Linked DNA regions of Homo sapiens: all the other regions are linked to region 2. The links are contacts of gene promoters, found by promoter capture Hi-C in blood cells and fetal thymus (Javierre and others, 2016). All regions are on one chromosome and are shown on one strand. Each heading gives the region's core, a stretch centred on a gene start or on the middle of the fragment in contact. The rest is flanking DNA. Distances are from core to core; before and after follow the strand shown. Region 1 has its middle 3.2 kb from the start of C11orf97. Region 2 holds the start of CHORDC1 (cysteine and histidine rich domain containing 1). Region 3 has its middle 1.9 kb from the start of PANX1. Region 4 overlaps FUT4 (fucosyltransferase 4). Region 5 holds the start of EED (embryonic ectoderm development). Region 6 holds the start of HIKESHI (heat shock protein nuclear import factor hikeshi). Region 7 overlaps C11orf97 (chromosome 11 open reading frame 97).

The links. Contacts are between HindIII fragments. The CHiCAGO score rates a contact against its expected background, and 5 or more counts as called.
Region 1: a contact is called between a fragment that was not itself captured here and the fragment with the promoter of CHORDC1 in region 2, in 5 of 17 cell types (total B cells, naive CD8 T cells, naive CD4 T cells and 2 more). The highest score is 11.7, in total B cells.
Region 3: a fragment that was not itself captured here is called in contact with the fragment with the promoter of CHORDC1 in region 2 in 3 of 17 cell types (non-activated CD4 T cells, total CD4 T cells and activated CD4 T cells); the score reaches 7.5 in non-activated CD4 T cells.
Region 4: a contact is called between a fragment that was not itself captured here and the fragment with the promoter of CHORDC1 in region 2, in 4 of 17 cell types (non-activated CD4 T cells, activated CD4 T cells, total CD4 T cells and 1 more). The highest score is 7.7, in non-activated CD4 T cells.
Region 5: a contact is called between the fragment with the promoter of EED here and the fragment with the promoter of CHORDC1 in region 2, in 1 of 17 cell types (non-activated CD4 T cells). The highest score is 5.7, in non-activated CD4 T cells.
Region 6: the fragment with the promoter of HIKESHI here is called in contact with the fragment with the promoter of CHORDC1 in region 2 in 1 of 17 cell types (non-activated CD4 T cells); the score reaches 7.3 in non-activated CD4 T cells.
Region 7: a contact is called between a fragment that was not itself captured here and the fragment with the promoter of CHORDC1 in region 2, in 1 of 17 cell types (activated CD4 T cells). The highest score is 5.8, in activated CD4 T cells.

What each region holds. Positions count from the first base shown.
Region 1 is chr11:94,507,914-94,510,665 of GRCh38, reverse strand. It overlaps a transcript of MRE11 not described here. Among named protein-coding and RNA genes, the nearest start is that of C11orf97, 3.2 kb to the left of the region's middle. The HindIII fragment of the contact is 1,830 bases long and covers 439-2,268 here.
Region 2 is chr11:90,221,724-90,224,423 of GRCh38, reverse strand. It overlaps CHORDC1 (cysteine and histidine rich domain containing 1), which reads left to right and starts at 1,375. Exons shown (of 11, transcript NM_012124.3): 1 at 1,375-1,533. The coding sequence starts at 1,470. LOC124902812 (a long non-coding RNA gene) reads right to left here and starts at 1,265. Exons shown (of 2, transcript XR_007062978.1): 1 at 1,004-1,265. The HindIII fragment of the contact is 11,072 bases long and covers 1-2,700 here.
Region 3 is chr11:94,125,523-94,128,366 of GRCh38, reverse strand. No RefSeq gene overlaps it. Among named protein-coding and RNA genes, the nearest start is that of PANX1, 1.9 kb to the left of the region's middle. The HindIII fragment of the contact is 2,877 bases long and covers 1-2,688 here.
Region 4 is chr11:94,548,602-94,551,301 of GRCh38, reverse strand. FUT4 (fucosyltransferase 4) reads right to left here. Exons shown (of 1, transcript NM_002033.4): 1 at 1,407-2,700. All of the region lies in intron 4 of PIWIL4-AS1 (PIWIL4 antisense RNA 1), which reads left to right. Among named protein-coding and RNA genes, the nearest start is that of FUT4, 6.0 kb to the right of the region's middle. The HindIII fragment of the contact is 601 bases long and covers 1,015-1,615 here.
Region 5 is chr11:86,243,225-86,246,051 of GRCh38, reverse strand. It overlaps EED (embryonic ectoderm development), which reads right to left and starts at 1,299. Exons shown (of 12, transcript NM_003797.5): 1 at 709-1,299. The coding sequence starts at 822. RefSeq lists enhancers at 787-1,315, 1,316-1,846. The HindIII fragment of the contact is 4,943 bases long and covers 1-2,827 here.
Region 6 is chr11:86,300,960-86,303,659 of GRCh38, reverse strand. HIKESHI (heat shock protein nuclear import factor hikeshi) reads right to left here and starts at 1,420. Exons shown (of 5, transcript NM_016401.4): 1 at 1,182-1,420. The coding sequence starts at 1,211. The HindIII fragment of the contact is 4,753 bases long and covers 659-2,700 here.
Region 7 is chr11:94,528,935-94,531,634 of GRCh38, reverse strand. The region is part of intron 3 of C11orf97 (chromosome 11 open reading frame 97); the gene reads right to left. Among named protein-coding and RNA genes, the nearest start is that of FUT4, 14 kb to the left of the region's middle. The HindIII fragment of the contact is 2,658 bases long and covers 66-2,700 here.

The DNA of each region.
Region 1 (2,752 bases), core at 104-2,603, 4.3 Mb before region 2:
ACTCACCTATCAGAAGTCCAAATGGCAGAAATAATTTCCAAAAAGTTATTCTAAATGACTTATATTCACTATATCCTTACCTAATATGGGTTTATATAATTTGAAAGCAAAAACACCTAGATTTCATTTGATTGACTCATGATGCTATTTTAACATTATGTTCTTAGTTTTTATCAAGAAGCAGTGGGAAAAAAGTCAAATAAGAAATATTTCAGAATTTTAAGTGAAACTATTTTTAAAGATGCTGTTCATTCTGTCAACTGTCATTTGTTAGTTCTCACAGAATAAACTTCTTTAAGATTAGTTTCACCAATATCAGAAATGGTAAATCTATACCTAAAGATCTTACAGGCATTAAAAAGATAGGAAGATATTTTGAATAATTTGATGCTAGTAAATTTGACAACTTAGATAAAATAGAGAAATTACTTAAAAGCTTTCCAAAATAGACACAAGAAGAAATATAGCTTTAATAGAAGTAGTTATAAAAATATAACTACTAAAAATATGGAATTTAAAATTAAAACACATACCACAAAGAAAAAGCCTCACTGGTATCTTCCAAACATTTAAGAATGAAATAACACCAGTTCTGTCTAACCTCTTGCAGGAATTAAAAAAAAATGTTAACACTTCCCAACTCATCTTTATACCAAAATCTGAAAGAACATTACTAAAAAGGAAAATTATAGGTCAATATCTCTCAAGAAGATCAATTCAGATATTAAATAAAATATTAGCAAATATAACCCAAATGTAGCGTGTTAAAAAATGGATAATACATACATCACGATCAAGTTTTGATCATTGCAGGAATGCAAGGTTGTTTAAAATCAATACTGTATAACTTACCACATTAAAAAAATAAAAAAGGAAGAAATTAAACTGTTATTGGCTGTCAACATGGCTGTATACATAGAAAATTCAGGCCAGGCAAGGTGGGTCACGCCTGTAATCCAGCACTTTGGGAGGCTGAGGCGAGTGGATCATGAGGTCAAGGGATCGAGACCATCTGGCCAACATGGTGAAAACCCGTCTCTACTAAAAATACAAAAATTAGCTGGGCGTGGTGGTACGTGCCTGTAGTCCCAGCTACTCCGGAGGCTGAGGCAGGAGAATCACTTGAACCCGGGAGGTAGAGGTTGCAGTGAGCTGAGATCGCATCACTGCACTCCAGCCTGGCAACAGAGCAAGACTCCATCTCAAAAAGAAAAAAAAGAAAATTCAAATGAATGTACAGGTAAGCTATTGGAATTAATAAATTTATCAAGGGCAGTGGACACATGGTCAATAGAGAAAAATAAATGTTACTTTTATATAGTAAAAAAAATTAAAAATGGAATGTAAAAGACAATAACATTTATAACAGCATTGAGAGCCAAAAAAATACATTAAGGATAAATCTTTAAAAAGAGAGAACTCCAACTGAATACTCTAAAACGTTATCAAGAAAAAGTAATACCTAAATAAATGCAGAAATGTATTACAGTATATTCAAGAATTATAACACTGAATATTACAATGATGTTAATTTTCCTCAACTAGATCTAGAAATTTCATGTAATCTCAATATGAATCTCAGCAGGGTTGTTTAAAATAGATGTTGGCAAGGGGATTCTAAAATTAGAAAGTAAATGTAGCACTTTGGCAGGCTGAGGAGGGCGGATCACGAGGTCAAGAGTTTGAGACCAACCTGGCCAACATGGTGAAACCCCGTCTCTACTAAAAATACAAAAATTAACTGGGTGTGGTGGTGCGTGCCTGTAATCCCAGCTACTGGGGAGGCTGAGGCAGGAGAATGGCTTGAATCCAGGAGGCAGAGGTTGCAGTGAGCCGAGATCGTGCCACTGCACTCCAGCCTGGGTGAAAGAGCAAGACTCTGTCTCGAAAAAAAAAAAAAAAGGTAAATGTAGTGGGCCAAGACTGGTCAAAACAACTTTGAAAAATAAGAAAGAAGTTGGAATATCTACACTACCACATAATAAGACTTATGATAAAGCCAAAATATTAAAACTGTGGTATTGGGGCAAAGATAGCTCAATGAAATAAAATAGAATCTAGAAACAGACCCAACTAAATATGATCACCAGATAAATGATAAAAGTGTCACTGCAATGTAGTGTGTGTGTGTTTGTGTGAGGGGCTGTTCCTTTTAATAAGTGGCATTGATAAATTGGATATTAATATAGGAAAATGAACTTTGACTCCTACCGCATGTCAAATGCAAATATCAACTCAAAATAGCACTAAAGGTAAAACACAAAAGCTTCTAGAGTATAACAATGAAAAAAACCTTCATGATGTCTTCCTCATGTCTACCCTTTGGAGTAGACAACTACTTTTTAAACAGGAAACCAAAAGCACTAATCAAAAGAAGGCAATAGATATAGTAGAGGTCGTTAAAATTAAGATATTCTCAGGCCAGATGCTGTAGCTCATGCCTGTAATACCAGCACTTTAGGAGGCTGAGGCGGGAGGATGGCTTGAGCCCAGGAGTCTGAGAACAGCCTGGGGCAATATAGCAAGATTCTCTACAAAAACAAATACATGAATTAGTAGTCCTAGCTACTTGGGAGGCTGAGGCAGGAGAATTGCTTGAGCCGCAGAATTTGAGGCTGCACTGAGCTACGATCACACCAGTGCACTCCAGCCTGGGCAACAGCACAAGACCCTGTCTCTATAAAGTAAATAAATAAATAAAATTAAGATATTCTCTTCATTAAAATCACCAGTAAGAGTGTGAAAAGGCAAG
Region 2 (2,700 bases), core at 126-2,625:
TCACAGCCGGTGCAATTGTAAATTGGTACCACCTTTCGGAAAGCAATTGGCTCTATATATCTTTAAAATCTTAAAGTTATTTAAAAAGCCTTATGCCCTTTACCCCAGAACTGTCGCTTTCCAAAAATTTTCCTAAAGGGGGAAATTCGAAATAAGAAAAACAATACACAGGTTGAGCACTGTAACTTATATATAATAAAGTTGGGGAAATTAGAGAAAGGTTAAATTACAGTGCATTTATTCAACAGAATACTCCGTCATTTGTAACAATGACTATGAAACAAAATAGAAAAATACTCACGTTAGGTTAAATGAAGAAAACATACCTATCTATGGTGGATCACAATATGAAAATTTAATACTTCTAGGTAGAAGAAGAGAAAGAGAATATGAAAAACTAAAAAGTCTTTAGGGGTAGGAGGACGTGAGCAGATCTCTAAATAACCTTGAGATCAATGGAAACAGTGTATAGATTTTTAGGTTCACTTATAAGCTGCTGATCTTATTTTAAGATCCTTCAGTATATGTTATCAAAAAGTGTTTGCTTTTCTTGCAAACGCCCATGTTTGGGAAATATGCAAGTTGAAGCCAATGCATTACTGTACTTTTTATAATGCACCTGAAGTTTTACTAGCTGTTCCAAGAGTGGTGTACTGAGTATTGATAAATCGTTTAAGTGGAGGCTCACATGAAATATTAACTATTACCCCAGGGCTTTAGAGCAACTGTGATCAATTCTGGCACAGCATCAGATCCATAATTTTCTTTGCTACTCTGATTTCTACGTTTTTTGTATTTTCAAAGTAATGTGACCGCAACTGTTAAGTTATTAAAATTGCTCCTGAGATGAGGGCACTCGAGACACAAACACACGGAGAGGTTCGTCCGCTATTCCTCTCATTTACTAAGCTCACACGTCTACCCTGAGGATTTGGAAACACTGTATGATTCTGCACTTACTGTGCACTTATCCCTTAGTGCTAAGGGGTAAACAGATACCCACCGGGCTGTCTAAGGCGCAGCCTCAAGGCAAGGAAGAAGGGTGCTGGGTCGCAGGGGATGAGAGGGCGGGGCGGCCACTTTGCTGCAGGAGATACCCAAAGCCAGTTAGCACTGAGGAAGTCAGAAGAGAATTGTCAGTCTCTCGGACACCTTCATTTTCTGCCCCGGAAATTTCTCCTCCGCTGTTGTCTGGGCTCCACTTCCGACCCCCAGTTGCTACCAGCTGTAGTCCGACCTATCGTGGCCCGGGCTAGTGCCAGCCTCCCGCCGCTACCTCCGCCTCGTCCCTTCTCCTCTGCGCCTGCGCGACCGGAAAATTCGCGAAGGTTCCTGAAACGCAACGGATCGTTTCCGGAAGCCGGTAGCCGCCTCAGTCGTCAGACCGGTGCTAGCGACACGGGAGTGGCAAACGCATCCTCTTGCCGTTCCCGGTGTTTGGGCCTTGCCTGTGACGGTGGGAAAAGAAAATGGCCTTGCTGTGCTACAACCGGGGCTGCGGTCAGCGCTTCGATCCTGAGACCAATTCCGACGGTAAGAGGAACGCGCCGCCAGCCCTCCCTCCCCTCCACCTCATCAGCAGGGGAGGCCCTTTGGGCCGGAGGGTGTCCGCGGATCTCCTGCAGCCGTCCTCGCGCGGCCCCAGGTCCATGCCCCTCCTGGGCCTCCCTTGGCTGCCCGCGCAGCCCGCCGGCCGCCCCTCTGTTGCGCCGCGTTCCCTTGGCGAGCGCCCGGCCCCGGCGCCTGACTGTCCTCTGCCACTGCGGAGAGAGACGCTCCCATGGATCCACGTGTTTCCCCCGTCGTCCCCGCACTCCTTTTAAGTCGCCTGGAATTTAGAACGAACACGTTTCTCCTCTGGCCCTCCAGTCTCTGGGGAAGCAAAAATTAACGAGGTACTGGTGAGCTTGCTTTGTAGTTCCCGAAGTAGTGATGGCTGTGATTGCCTGCGCGAGAGGGAGAGGTGGCCGGGATGAGCAGCGGGTTGTCCTAGCATGTAAGCTCTGCCTTGTAGAAGTTTGTGTTCAGTCGATCCGCTGTTACAAACCTCTTACAAGTGTTCTTGGTAAGGGACATTACTCTGTATCTTCACGCTGTTTTGATAGGTTCATCCTGGTGGTACGTTAGTTATCTTTTTATTACTAGCGGCATTTGTTGCTTGTTCTTCTTGTGGCCTCCACGTTTTACTACCATGCCTACTCCCGTATAAAATGAGTGAATGTCATCTACAGCACCTAGATGTCGAGTTAAGGATCCAAAGCGAAAATGACTATTAGGTGAAGGACGGGAAATGATCAGTGAATTGAAATTTTGATTGACAAAGAAGTGAGATGATTCCTTGCGTATCGTGAGAAGTGACAACACGTTTTCAGATTGAACTAGCATTTAGTTTATATTTTCTGCATGCCAGCCATTATTGCTTTATCTTATTTAATCTTCATAACCACCCTGGGACGCATGTAATGTTAATTAGACCCATTTGATAGAGAAGCTCAGTTCAATGAGGTTGTATTAATAACATCCTTCATTATTGTGGAGGAGATGAAAACTGATGCCTTTTGAACTCTTCACCTCTGAGATGTTTGAAATACTTATTTTTGGCACACAGGTAAATTGATAGCGTTATTTAAAATAAGACCATTGATACAGAGTTTTAAGGAAAAGGAAAATCCAACCTATGCAATACTCAAGTTACCGCCA
Region 3 (2,844 bases), core at 1-2,500, 3.9 Mb before region 2:
AGCCTTGTTCCGGGAGCCAGCAGAGAGAGGGGGGCCTGCAGGTAGGTGGGTGTTGGGGCTGCAGAGAGCTGCTTCTGAACAGCTCATAGGAAGTGGATGATGGAAAGACAGGAGGAAATACTCTGACCAGTGTCCACGGAAATTAAGGCTGTTGAAGTAGAAATAATTTGATTTATTGGAAGCTAAATGTGAGGATCCACCCAAGAAGACTTACCAGCAAAGTTGGGCATGTTTCAAAATTTGTTACACGTTGGAAGGGTTTTAGAAGAAAGTTTAGGAAAAGGGAGGAGGACCCCTTATATCAGAGGTGGGATTTTTTTCATCGGAGGGTATGGTACACAGGTTACAGTCACTGGCTGCAGATGACAACATACAGGCTAAAATGTTTTGTGCACAAGAAAATCAAAGTTTATATGATTCAGAAACAAGTCAGTGTTCTTTTCAATGTCAGTATTTTACATACTAATCAGTACATCAGCAGTTTGAGGAACTGACAAAAGGATTTGAAGGACTCACAGTAAGATTTTTTACTCAGGGACAGGATCTAAGCCATGAATCATAAGACCTTTCTTAGATGGCTTAGTTTGGAAGCCCTGTCAAATGTGACATGTAGGTTATCACCAGTAACATTTGAAGCAGGCAGGACCTGCAAACATGAGGGCTCCTTGGGGCAGGGCTTGGCTCCCTTCTCTGTGGGTCCACAGATACAAGCCTCAACTCCCACATGTACCTCTCCACCCCAGCCTGGCCGCTAAACACACATCCAAGAGCGTATACAGCTCTCTCCGCGTAGATGGCTCATAGGGCTTCAAACTCATAACGGCCAGGACTTCAGTCTTCATCTTCCCCTTAAACCTGAACTCCATCTTCCCCATCTTACTAAATGTACCACCAGCCACCTGTGCACCCAAGTCGGAATCCTGGAGCACCATCTTCAACACTCCATTTCTCACAGCTGCCATAACCAATTTTCAAATTCTCTTGCTTCTCTCTCCTAAATATAGCAAATCTGACACCCCTCCACCTGCACTGCCAATACCCAATTCAACTCACCATCCTGTCTCCTAACCACATATAGGAAATATGTGAGACAGGGTCCCCCTCCATTCTCCTCTACAGCTGCCAGGATGAGCTTTTCAAAACTCCAGTCGGATCATCTTTTCTACTTAAAGTGTACATTGTTTTTAGCATAAAATACAAATTTCTTAGCATGGCCTCTGCCTACCTCACCACCAGCTTCACTGCTTTCCTTTCAGTTCTTCAAGTTAGCTAAGCCCTTGGCCTCCTCCAGGCCTTCCCACCCAAAACACTCCCCACAGTGGCCTCTTTGCCTGGCCCACCTTTATTCACCCTTCTGGCCTCAGCTTGATGTCACTTCCCTGGGAAAGCCTTCCCTAAGTAGACAGACTAGATTAGGTCCCTTTGTGAAATTCTCCCATAATACTAGCCACACTAGTTACTAGCTATTAGTCTTGGGGAGTTCTTTGACTCTCCTGTGTCTCAGTTTTCTCATCTGTAAAAAGGTTGTACCTCTTAGGACTGTGATAAGGACCAAATGAGTTAACACGTGGGTAGTGCCCAGTGCCTGGCACCTTGTGAATCTAGGTACATTTCATCTGTCATTGTTCTCTATTTTTCCTTCTTAAAAATAGTCACCATTGCAACTCAACAAATATTTATTCATTTATTTAGTGTTTGCCACCACTTTATGTGATCGGCTTCTTGAGGGTAGGCCCATGCCCATGTGTACCACTTTTATCCTCAACACTTAGCACAAATGCCTCACACAGAGTTGATGTTTTAATTCATATTATTAAATAAATGTCTGAAGGAATCTGAACACTTTTTAAAACTGGCCCAGTTCACACTCATTTATCCATACATTCCAGGCATATATTAGAGGCTGGTGATGGGCCAGTTCTGGGCTCAGTGGATGGGGAAGCAGAAATGAAGTGAATGGATTCCATTTCCTCAAAGACCTTATGGCTTAGCAAGAGAAATAAGGCATGCACACAATTAACTATAATGCAAGGTAGAAAGAGTGATTATTGTGAAAAGTGGGGTATACCAAGGGAGGTGCAGAGAATAAGTAGGGCCTGGGAGAATGTGTCAGTTGGGACATTCAGAGCTGGGACAGGGGCTTTCTGGGAGTCAGGAAATCATGGGTGCCATTTCCCTTCTTTCCTTGCCAAAAGCTAATCATCCGATAGGCTCAAATGGCCCCTTTTTAGGCTCAAATGCCCCCTTTTTAGGAAGCCTTCCAGGATCCTCCAGTTGTAATGAATCCTTCCCTCCCTTGTTACTCTCTCCTCTGGCCTAGAAGTTAGTTCATTTTGCCTCCTGTGATGGGATGATGGATTGTGTATCTCTTTTTTCATTACATAGCAAGTTCCTCTGAGGATCTGGAGTGAATCTCAGCAGTTGCATAAATTGCCCTCAGTTTTGGCAATTTTTTACATTCCATATGATGTTATCCTACTTTTAATGAATTTAAAATAGAAGCCAGATGGAGAACTTGTTGGAAAATAGTGTGTCCGGAATTGATTCCTTCTGGTGGGTTCTTGGTCTCACTGACTTCAAGAATGAAGCCACGGGCCCTCGTGTTGAGTGTTACTGTTCTTAAAGGTAGTGTGGACCCAAAGAGTGAGCAGCAGCAAGATTTATTGTGAAGAACAAAAGAACAAAGCTTCCACAGCATGGAAGGGAAGCTGAGCAGCTTGCCGCTCTGGTGGCCAGCTTGTATTCACTTATTTGGCCCCGCCCACATCTTGCTGATTGGTCCATTTTACAGAGCGCTGATTGGTCCATTTCACAGAGTGATAATTGGTGCATTTACAAAACTTT
Region 4 (2,700 bases), core at 66-2,565, 4.3 Mb before region 2:
CGAGTAGCTGGGACTACAGGAACCCACCACCACGTCCGGCTAATTTTTTGTATTTTTAGTACAGACGGGGTTTCACTGTGTTAGCCAGGATGGTCTCCATCTCCTGACCTCATGATCTGCCCACCTCAGCCTCCCAAAGTGCTGGGATTACAGGCGTGAGCTACCGCACCTGGCCTTCTATTCTTTAAAACAGTAAATTGGTGATTATGACAACATAACAAAATATACTTCTTTAAAAGTGAATATTGAGTACAGATGAAATATGCTGTCTAGAAATGAAAAAGTGGCCATGAATGCGAATTTTCCAAGATGAAGAAAAGGACCATTCATTCAAGTTCAAGAATCTGTTGTCATGAATCAAGGGACAGTTCTATATTTCTGCTAAAATGTTAGGTGATTTCTTGTTAAGTTTCTGACTTTCCCTGTCAGTGAGTTCAGACTTCTTGATTTGACTCCCCATTTGCTGACAGATGCTGCGTTTCAAGCTGGAGCAAAGGTTTCTTTTCAGCATTGTGGCAGAGAATGGTAGATTTTAACCTATTTCCTCATTCTTGCCGCATATGTTCCTCCTTTGTCCTGCCACTCTTGCCGTTTAACACTTATCTTTCCTCTACTTTTCTCATGTTTCCTAGCCTCTGCCTTTCTTCTATCTGATCGTCTCTTCACTTTGTACTTTTATCCCCACCCCCATCTTTCTTTTCCTCTTCACTCCCCATCTATATTCACCACCTGCTCTATTTTACAATGCACTTTTCTTTTTACTCATTCATTATTGAATCCTTTTTTCTTGCCAATCCTGCTCCTATCTTCAGCTGGCCATCATAATTTTTCAAAGTCTGTGCTTAAATGAACATGTCAGAGTGTGTGTGTGTGCATGCATGTGTGTGTGCGTGCGTGCGTGTGTGTGGTGTTGGAGGAGGGCAGGTAGGAAAGAAGAGACAATAGTTAGTGTTTATTACCACTTCGTATTTTCCTATTTCAATAATTTAAGCATCGGCTGTTAAGAAGAAAGCTTGCCTCCCCTTCTCTCTGCCCATCATCATGTTCCCAGTTCTGATCCTACTCTTTTTAAAATGGCATTTAATTTAGTGAACAGGAGCTAGAGACAATACATGGAGGGCATCACATCAGAGCACTCAGGAAAATAAACTGGACTGAGAGAAAGGAGTATACTACTTATGCCCTTGGAGATGATTCCTCAGAATAAAGTGGAAAAGACAGGCAAGAAAGAACAAGAGGACAGGCTGAATTGGACTTTGTGCAACACAGAAGAGGCAAAGCCATCACATTCCAATTACCAATCTAGAACTAGTGAACTTACAGAAACTGCCCCAAGCCAAGAAATATCCCATGGGTGACGACTGAACACATTAGTGCATGGAGGATATACATTATAAACAGAGTCATTTTCCATCTCATTATTTTAATCATTTTGTCAAAAAATCTGAACATGTGTACATAAATACTTGATTTGTTAAAAGAATGTGTAGCATAGAAATCCCTGAGACACATTCAAAAATGACTTGACATCTTGACATGTATTCAATGCAAGTATTCACCAAACTAAATACCAAGGACTTGGCTCCTTTCCCTGATATTTGAGGCATATAAAGCTTTAAAAATATATATAATATACTATATATATAATTTACATCTTTAAAGTTAAATTATATTTTCTTTCTCTGATTCCTGGTTTTCTGCCAGTTTACTGCTCCTGCATATTGTCAGTTCCAGACTGTAAGGAAGCCACATTGGAAAGCAGATAAGCACTTTCAACCTTAGGGTGCCAGTTAGTAGAATGATAGCACGTGGAACTAGGAGGTCCCAACAGATGATTTTGTCTAACCCACTCATTTTGCAGTTCAGGTGACAGAGGCTCAAAGAGGTTGTGATTTGCAGAAGCATGGCTGGTTCTGCCACTGCTATTGTAATGTTATGCAAGTCCTTCAGTGGGCCTGGACCTTGGCTCCTTCCTCGGTAAAATGGACTGATGGTAATCACAGCGAATATTTTCCAGGTGCTTCCTACATGCCAGGCACTATCCTGAGTACTTCAAGTGTCTAATCTATCCTCTCAACACCTCCATAAATTATATATGCAAAGCGTAAAATATTTACTCCCTGGAAAAACGTTTGCCAATCCCTGGTTTAGATCCTTGAAAATTTAGAACATCTTATAATTATATAGCACTTTACAATATACAAAGCACCTTGGCATACATCATCACATTTAATCTTTGTTTTGTAGGGGGATAGGCATTCATGCATTGTAAAGGAGAAAGCTAAAACTCAAGAGTTTAAGTAACTTGCTTCATCAAGGCCACAGAGTCATACCCAGGTTCTGACTCCAAACTGCATGCTCTTTACATGAAACTCCTCTGTCTCCCCTAAATTACTGCTAGGAAAAGACTTGGAAACTGGAAAGAACTTGTGAATACTGAAAGCAAGTCAGACCGTCTTCTGTTACAAATGTCATTCCAGGTGCATTCATGTAATTAGAGTCATCAAGTACTAAAAATACTAAATTTGTAATAAATTTGAGGGAAAAGCCTTAAAGGAGGACATGACAATCATAGGAAAGGCATTTTGAAATACATACAGTGCACCGATATGCATTTTTCTTAAGGTATGTTAGAGCTGAACCTACTCAATTTAATATATGCAAAATAAAATGAGCAATTGCCACATTCATCTCGCTCTC
Region 5 (2,827 bases), core at 50-2,549, 4.0 Mb after region 2:
TATACCACTGTTGCCCAAAATCTTCCAGGTCGCCACCCCCCTCACCTTTATCTTAAGTAAAAACGTTCAAAGAAGAAATCACCCACTCTTACTTCCTCAAAGGTAGTCACTCCCCACCCCCAAATCAAAAATCGATCCTCTCAATTCGGCTCCTCCTACAGAAAAGGCGACCTTCAGGCGCACCCGGTCTCCGCGGACAGGACGGAGGCGGACACAAAACCCCCTTTAATAAAGTCTCCCAAACTCCGCAAATCGAAGATCACTTTCCATCCTGAAAATTCCACAAGGGTCTTAGAGTGACAACCCTTACGCTCCTTTAACAGGGTCCCTAACTCTGCCCCGTCCTTCCAACTTTCTTAGAAAAGTCTCTAACGTGCCTTTTAAACTACTAGAATCTCAGACCCGCACTCTCCCCTTAAATCCCCCCAAAGGCCAAAACACTCCCCATCACATGCAAACTGATTTCAGGGCAGACTTCTCAGACCCACGCAATCACTAGAACCACTCTCCTTTGCCTAGTTCCTGCTTGCTCTCGGCCCCACATCAAAATCCCCGTAGGCAATTTCAATTTTCTCCCGCACGCCCGCGTTTTCCTGAGTGACACCTCTCCCTCCCCCCACAGCAGCCCGCTCGTCCCCGCGCCCCCCGTTTTAAAAGAATTTAAAACTTTCACTCCGCAGTCTCGTAACTGCCAGAAGCTGCACTTACATTCTCGTCTCCAGAGAGGTCTGGATTGCTGTTCTCGTCACTGCTCAGCTTCTGCTTCTTGGCCGCAGGCATGTCTGTTCCCGCCGGCGCAGTCGACACTTCCCTCTCGGACATATTCCTCCGCCTCCCTCCAGGTTCCTGCCGCCTGGGGCGGGGCCTCCGCCACACCGCCGTCAAGCAAGCCCGGCCCGAGCTTGCCGCAAAGTTGCCGCTGCCGCCGCCACCTCCACCGCCCCCCCCACTGTCGCAAATCGCGCCCAGCCGCCGAGGCGGGCGTGCGTGCGACCCCGCCACACTGCTGAAAAAGGGGCGCGCGCGCGCGCCCTCCCGCGCGGCTTCCTGGCTCCTTCCCTTCCCCAACTCCCGTCTTGCCCTTTTCCCGCCGCCCTCCCGGCAGTCTACACGATGTAAGGTCCGTTGGATTAAGAGGGCAGTATTAAGTATGTCTCCCTTCCCACCACCGCCTCGAGAAGAGGCGAAACTCAAAGGGATGCTCCCTCACCCCCTTCCTCCTTCCAAAGACGTTTCAGCCGCAATTGGCCCGTTCCTTCGATCTCCGACCCGCTGCTAGGGAGCGAAAGTCTGTGGAATGGGCTACACCACCAATGTCCCAGGAAACGGGGGAAGATACAAGACGTCACCTCTTGCTTTAGCTGTGCATGCCACGTTTCCTTAATCTTGAACTTGGAGGACAGCGCTTCCTGACTATTCACGGAACTATTCATAACCTAATTCTTCCTTGAAGATAGAAATGCAAAAACAGTAACCTGCTTCCCCCTGGCTTCCCCCATCTGGCGAATGGAAAGTACCCGTCAGGGGATGCGCAGGCGCCGTGGCGTACTCTTGCGCTGGGTTCGTCGAAACCCGCCTCCTCCAAGCCCCTCCTCTGTTTGAATTCTCGTTTGCTGAACCAGGTAGTTTTCTACCCGGTTTCCGAATCCCAGGGTGGATTTCAAAGCGCTACCGAATTATACTCTAGACGCTTCGTAAATTCTTGTCGGATATTTATTCTGTTGACTATTTATTGTAATGAATGATTATCCTTCCAGTTGCTACCAATAGTGGTTAAGACTTAAATAGAAATATCCTAACATTATGAGACTAGACTCCAATGAGTTACAGCCAAAGTGCTCTTTTTAGCTGCTAAAGGATAGGCCCTGAACTACGCCAAGGCCTAAGAATCAGTGCTCATCTCCATTATGAGATTGTGATACTTAACCGACAATGTTTTGCTTGTTTTTGCACATCAGATACAATGAAATTCTAGAAGGCAACACAACTGTTAAACTTCACCAAAATATTTGCCTCTGTTACTATATCTATTCTCTAGCAGGTGCCAGATAACATTGGTGAGCCTTGTGGAATTATTATATGGGTCATGAAACCATAACTGAATGAGCAGCAGGAAAAGGAGAGTGATGACGAAAAATAAAATACGGCATCCGCCACCTTTTTTTTGTTTTTCTTAGAACATGATTGTGACTACTTATCTATTCGGGCTTCTGTAAAAATGTCCTCATCTGTAAAAATGAGGAGGCAGGAAGGGAGAAAGGGACCTACCATTTCTTGGGCACCTGCTTGATGTTGTATATCTTTTCTCTTCTAGACCTCATTACCCACCTAGAGTGCACCATCCATAAAATTCTAGTATACTTGAATTATTTCTGCATGATAACTTTATAACCAGGACATCAGTTTCCTTATCTGCAGATTGCAAGTCACTCTTTCTTTTGTAGATAAAGAGAGAACTCTTGGTTGAGAATGAGAAAAGGAAGTAAAGCAAAGGCAGGTCAGAATGAGAGGTTTCTGCAGTGAAGACTTTGAAATAAAGAAGCCGAAAAAAAATTAAAGTTGAGGTCTCAATGACGGCAGTCATTTGTTCAGTACTTCCAATGTTCCAGGCACTACTAAGCACTCCTCAGTTGGTGAGAAGAGATGAGACTGGAGTAGAGTAAGCTCCTGACAAAGTAAGACGTGCTTTGGCATGACATTTTCATCAGCAGACAGAAACATCCTTCCCTTTGTTAAGAACATCTTTCCCAACAAAGGGAAGGACGTTTCTGAAATATAGTTCTACAAGTAAAGGATAATTGACTAAAGCATTTCAAATTAAAATTAC
Region 6 (2,700 bases), core at 171-2,670, 3.9 Mb after region 2:
AGAGGCAGGTATTACCATAACTAAATTTCCTTCCAAATTAGTTGACAACGTGAGAGATACATGGATTCCAAATAGGCTTTTTATTCTTTAAGAAACACAATTTTAATGTCATTCATTAATAACACTCACTCGTCTGAGTCACACAATCATTCCAGGTTTGTCCTTTTTCCCTATTAAGAGCAGGGCAAAATTATCTCACCAGGATTATGAATTACCACCATCACCACAGGGGTCTCCCAGTCATTCAAGAGACAAACTTTATGAGGCTAGTCATCTCCAACTTATCTTTCTGGCTTCTTAGAACTGTATATGTACAGAATACAATACATTATCAAAACTTGATGGGAAAAAAAGACAATTCAGCAAAGGGACTGCAACATTTTAAAAAGCCAGGAGAAAAAAGAAGGAAAAATACTTCTAGGGGAAAGGAATCAGGCCTGAAAATTGATGTCTGTGTGGTTTCTAAGGAAACAAACAAGATTCACCTTCCAGATTATTCCTAAAGAATTCCAGGTGCTGTTCTCATTTACTCTAACAATTTGGCAAGGTAAGTTATCTATTTTGACCCATAAGGAAACACACTACTCGCATCCTTCTCTGGTTATCTCAGATACGGCTCACACGTTAAGTTTCAGCCAACTTCCAATTAAATTAAGCTTATTTTTACTCGGGTTCTTCCAAAGGGACCCAAAAGATATACATTCCCTGAGCACCTTAATCTTTGAAAAACAGTTTGCTATAGACCAAATTCAATCCCAAATTCACCTCTACCTCAAGTTAATAAAGAAGGTATTTATACTGGCGATTGAACTTAGTTCTGTAACTGCAAAATGTCAAAGATAAAGACCATCTCACGAGTTATGAGGATTAAGTTCAAAGTGCCAAATAAGCGCCACACATAAGGCTGAGTGACCAAAGGCGTGCATTGCACTTAGCCCAGTACTTGGTACAAAATGCACACTTAATAAATGCCAACTTATACTGTGACTACTATTCGAAAGAATCTGAATAGAGCTGGGCAAAGGAGAGCACCCAGCTTCCCACGCTCCATCCTCACATACCCACCCAAAATATAATAAGTGGGCTTCCCCGCATCCCTAGCGCCTGCGCACCCTCCCTGCCGTAGGGCTTCGCCCTCGGTATCCTGACCCCTTCCTGATATCACCCGGTCCCATCCTCACCAGCCTCCCCGCCACCAAGCAGCCAAACATGGCGACGGCAGCTCCGTTCAGCCGGCAGTGACCTGAAGCCGGCGACTAGGAGTCCTGGGGCTACTGCCCTAGTCGAGACTAAGAACCTTCCAGAATTTGCGGGAGGGTGTCTGCCCCTCCACTACATAGTGACTGGGCCAGCGGCAAGAATGCCTCTGCCCCCGCGAACTCTGACCTTCTCTTCCTAAGCAGCCCACTGCTCAGGCAACAAGTACTTCCGGGGCTTACACCCGGTTTTCCCCACTAAGGAAGAAAGGCGGGCCAGCGCCAGTACAAGACTACAAGTCCCAGAACAAGTCCCAGAGGGCACCGCGCCAGTTTCCGGGAAGGTAAGCCTGGAGGCTTTGCACACTGGGATCGGTAGTCCGGGTGTTTTATAGCCACAAAATCTGTGGATCCTTCATTTCCATGTACAATCCTGGGAAGAGATGCTTCTAACGTTTCTGTGACATCTGAGAGATTAACGGTGCACTTTTACAATAATCACGTCACTAGATCTTTACAAAAACCCTATGAGGTAAGTATTATAATCCAAATTTTATAGGAGTGATCAGCCTCAAATCTTTACACAGCAGTAAATGTTGGAGGCTGAATTCAAGTCCTAATCCAAATCCGGGTTTCTTTCTGCTACACAGTGTCTCAGAAGTATTAATCTTTAACCAATTGTTTTGTACTTGTCTACAATTTATAGTAGTTCTTTCCAGCTTCACTTAGTTCTCCCATTCATTTGCTGTACAATTGTGGACGAGTTGTAGATGTCTTTGTGCTTCAGTGCCCCTCCTTTGCAAAAGACAAATAATGAGCCTATTGCCTAGGGTTGCTGTGAGGATTAAATGAGCTAATATGTATAAAACACTTAAAACAGTGCTTGGCTGTGCTTAATTAGTGGGAGTTTTATTGTAAAAATGTCTATTTTTTTTCTATGTGGATCTGCAGAAAAGTTTCATAGGAAATACAAAACAATAGCCAAAAAAAAAAAAAAAAATACTGGCATTAAGTACCGATTGCCACCAATACTTATTCTCCCTTTCACAGCTCCAATTCCTTTTCTTCTTGAATAGGATAGTAAAGGGTCTCTGTCCAATTTGAAATATCTGAGCTTGGCCACCAGCCGTAAAGCAGGTCTGTCTTCCCAGTTCTCAGTTTATATATGGGGGATCAGTGTTTGGAACAGTCCTCTGGCCTCCACTGTGGATCCCTAAACTGATCACCTATCTTATCACCGATACTCCTTTGAGATAGCTGTGCCAAAGGTGAAGAGGTAGGAAAGGATCTACCAATGTTTCCAACTTACTATCTAAAAAGTCCTAGAACCTTCAGAATAAAAAGGCCATTCATATGAAGACCACTTCATAAATTAAGGCACCCACACTACCTGGGTTCAGAGCCCATCTCTGCCATTTATTAGTTACATAATCTCAGGCAAGTTAACCTAACACTCCCATACCTCCTTTTCCCCATCTTTAAAATGAAGTAATAGTAGTATCTA
Region 7 (2,700 bases), core at 145-2,644, 4.3 Mb before region 2:
AGACCTATGGTATCAGAGTCTGAATTTTATTGAGATACCATGTGAATTGTAGGCACATTCAAGCTTAGCACCAGACTAGACAATGCTTTTTTTTTTTTTTTTTTTTTTGGCTTGTTTTGTGGCACAGAATAAGAAGGAAACGATAAAAGGTTTTTTGTCATCAACCATTACCGTTTGTTTGTTTGTTTGTTTGTTTGAAACACAGTCTTGCTCTGTCACCCAGGCTGGAGTGAAGTGGCCCAATCTTGGGTCGCTGCAACCCCTGCCACCCAGGTTCAAGCGATTCTGGTTCTTCAGCCTCCTGAGTAGCTGGGACTAGAAGCGTGCGTCACCCCGCCTGCTAATTTTTGTATTTTTAGTAGAGACGGGGTTTCGCCATGTTGACCAGGCTGGTCTTGAACTCCTGGCCTCAAGTGATCTGCCCGCCTTGGCCTCCCAGAGTGCTGGGATTGATAAAAGTAAATGAATAAAACCTCTTAGTGTGATGAAAGCAGTAGATGCTTCACAGTCTCTAATGGAAACATGCTTTAGAACTACAGTTGGATGATCATAATTCTAAATTTAAACTTTAAATGATGTGTATTATATGTTGGAAGAGTCCCAACTACCATGATCACATTGTTCATGAGAAAGAGAGAAGAAAAGCACAAGTGAATTGTTTAAATTGACAGTGGGATTTGACTGAAGTATCTAACTGAAGCATATTTTATGGGAGAAGTTCCTGGAAAACTCATTGTAAGCCACAGAAGACCTCTCTTTGAAAGTGTTAGTTCCAAGATGTATTTAAAATATATGCAACGTTTCAAGATTCACACAGTGAAGAAAGTAGGTTGCATTGCTTTTCCCTCTATTGTTTGCATTTGGTTTAGTGGTCTCAAGTAGAGAAAACGATATACTTTTGAGGGAGCAGGGGATGTATGTGAGTTAGCAGCAAGAAGATTCTAAACATAAAGAGGCATTTAACATATACTTACTGGTTCATTCATTCATTGGTCATTCTCATGACTAATAGCAATTGAGCACCTACTGTGCCAGGCACTGTGCTAAGTGCCAGATACACAGTGGTGAGTAAAACACAGTCTCTGCCTCCATGGAGTTTGTGATAGTGTATTAATTACTACTGACAATTTTTGAAAATTATCTATGGATTTTGTTCTTCTATGATATTTCTGTGCCTAGCATCTTCCTTTTTCATTGATAATGAGAAAGGTTTAATTCTTGGTTACCAGTCTGACATATAGATTGATCAATTGTGATTGTACAGCAGATAGTAGCAGCTCATATGATATGACAAAAATGCAGCTGGCAACCTAAAGAGATGAAGCTAAGCTATGTGTCAATAACAGTTACATATTGTAACATGACCACTGTAAGGGCTTGGCACCAGCTGGAAATAAATGGAGGGCCGAGGGCTACTAGGAATGTAGTGTGGATGAGTACAAATGAGCGGGAGCCATGAAATGTCTCTTAAATTGTATGGATGAAAGGAATGCAATTATGATCAAAATGAAACATGCATTTTTTATCATATGTCCCCAATCAATAAATTGGATAATTTATTGGACTTGTATGTCTTTAAATAAAGGAAATTTGTTATTCAATCAGTCTCATAATATGCACGCAGAAAACCATTCATCTTTAAAACAAATTACTTAGTGAGTTTTCTTGGAATGATGGAATTACCTACAATAAGTGGAACCTAAGAAATTGAGTGGAAAGTTGAGATAAATAGCTTCCAATAGGCAAGTGGCCCAGACTTTGGTTGAATCAACCATTAATTCAGGACACTAATATCTTTGTGAATTATGAAGGTAGCTGCCTCCCAGATTCCTAAAACCCTGTGTTTCCATATCCCTGGCATTTGTACCTATTTAACCGCAACACAACAACTGTTGCTTGTTGCACAGTGACTAGATTCTCTGCCATGATGGCCCAGTAGTGTTGGGCCATAGTCTTGGAACTGAGGGCATAGTCTTGGAAGCCAGATGGACATGGGTTTGTAGTTCTGGCTCCACTACCTGCTAGACATGGGATTGTAGGTAGTAAAGTGTCTCTATGCCTCAGTTTTCTTACCCAGAAAATGGAGATTATAATCCTCAACTCATATGATCATGTGGATTACATAACTGTATAAAACACTTGCTGCCATGCCTGGCTCCTGATAAATGGTGGCTACTACTACTTTATTATCATTAAACTGAAGTCTTCCTAACTGGCTCCTGTTTGCTACATGAATCCCCTTTAGTAACAAGTTTTGTGTTTGTTTTTTTAACCTCTTGTTTCAGTTTCTTAGTGGCTGTATTTTTTCCCTTACTGAGTCCATATCCCAGAGGCTGCATCCCTGGCCCCCTGGGGACCCTACTCCTATGTGACACTTTTATTGAACTCTCATCTCACTTCAGGTCCAATAGACATCCTAGCTCGTGGGCACTTGGCTCAGAGATGCAGTAGTGTCTAGTGGTTGAAAGCATGGACTTTGGAGACAGGCTGCTTTGGTTCAAATCCCAGCATTTCTACTCTTCTACTTGTTAGCTGAGCGAACCGGGGTAAATTATTTCACCTCTCTGTGCCTGAGTTTCTGCCTACCTTGGCCTCCTAAAGTACTGGGATTACAGGTGTGAGCCACTGTGCCCAGCCTATTATTGTATATATTAAGAATCTAGAATAAGCAATGCTATATAGCATTGCTATTATGATTCA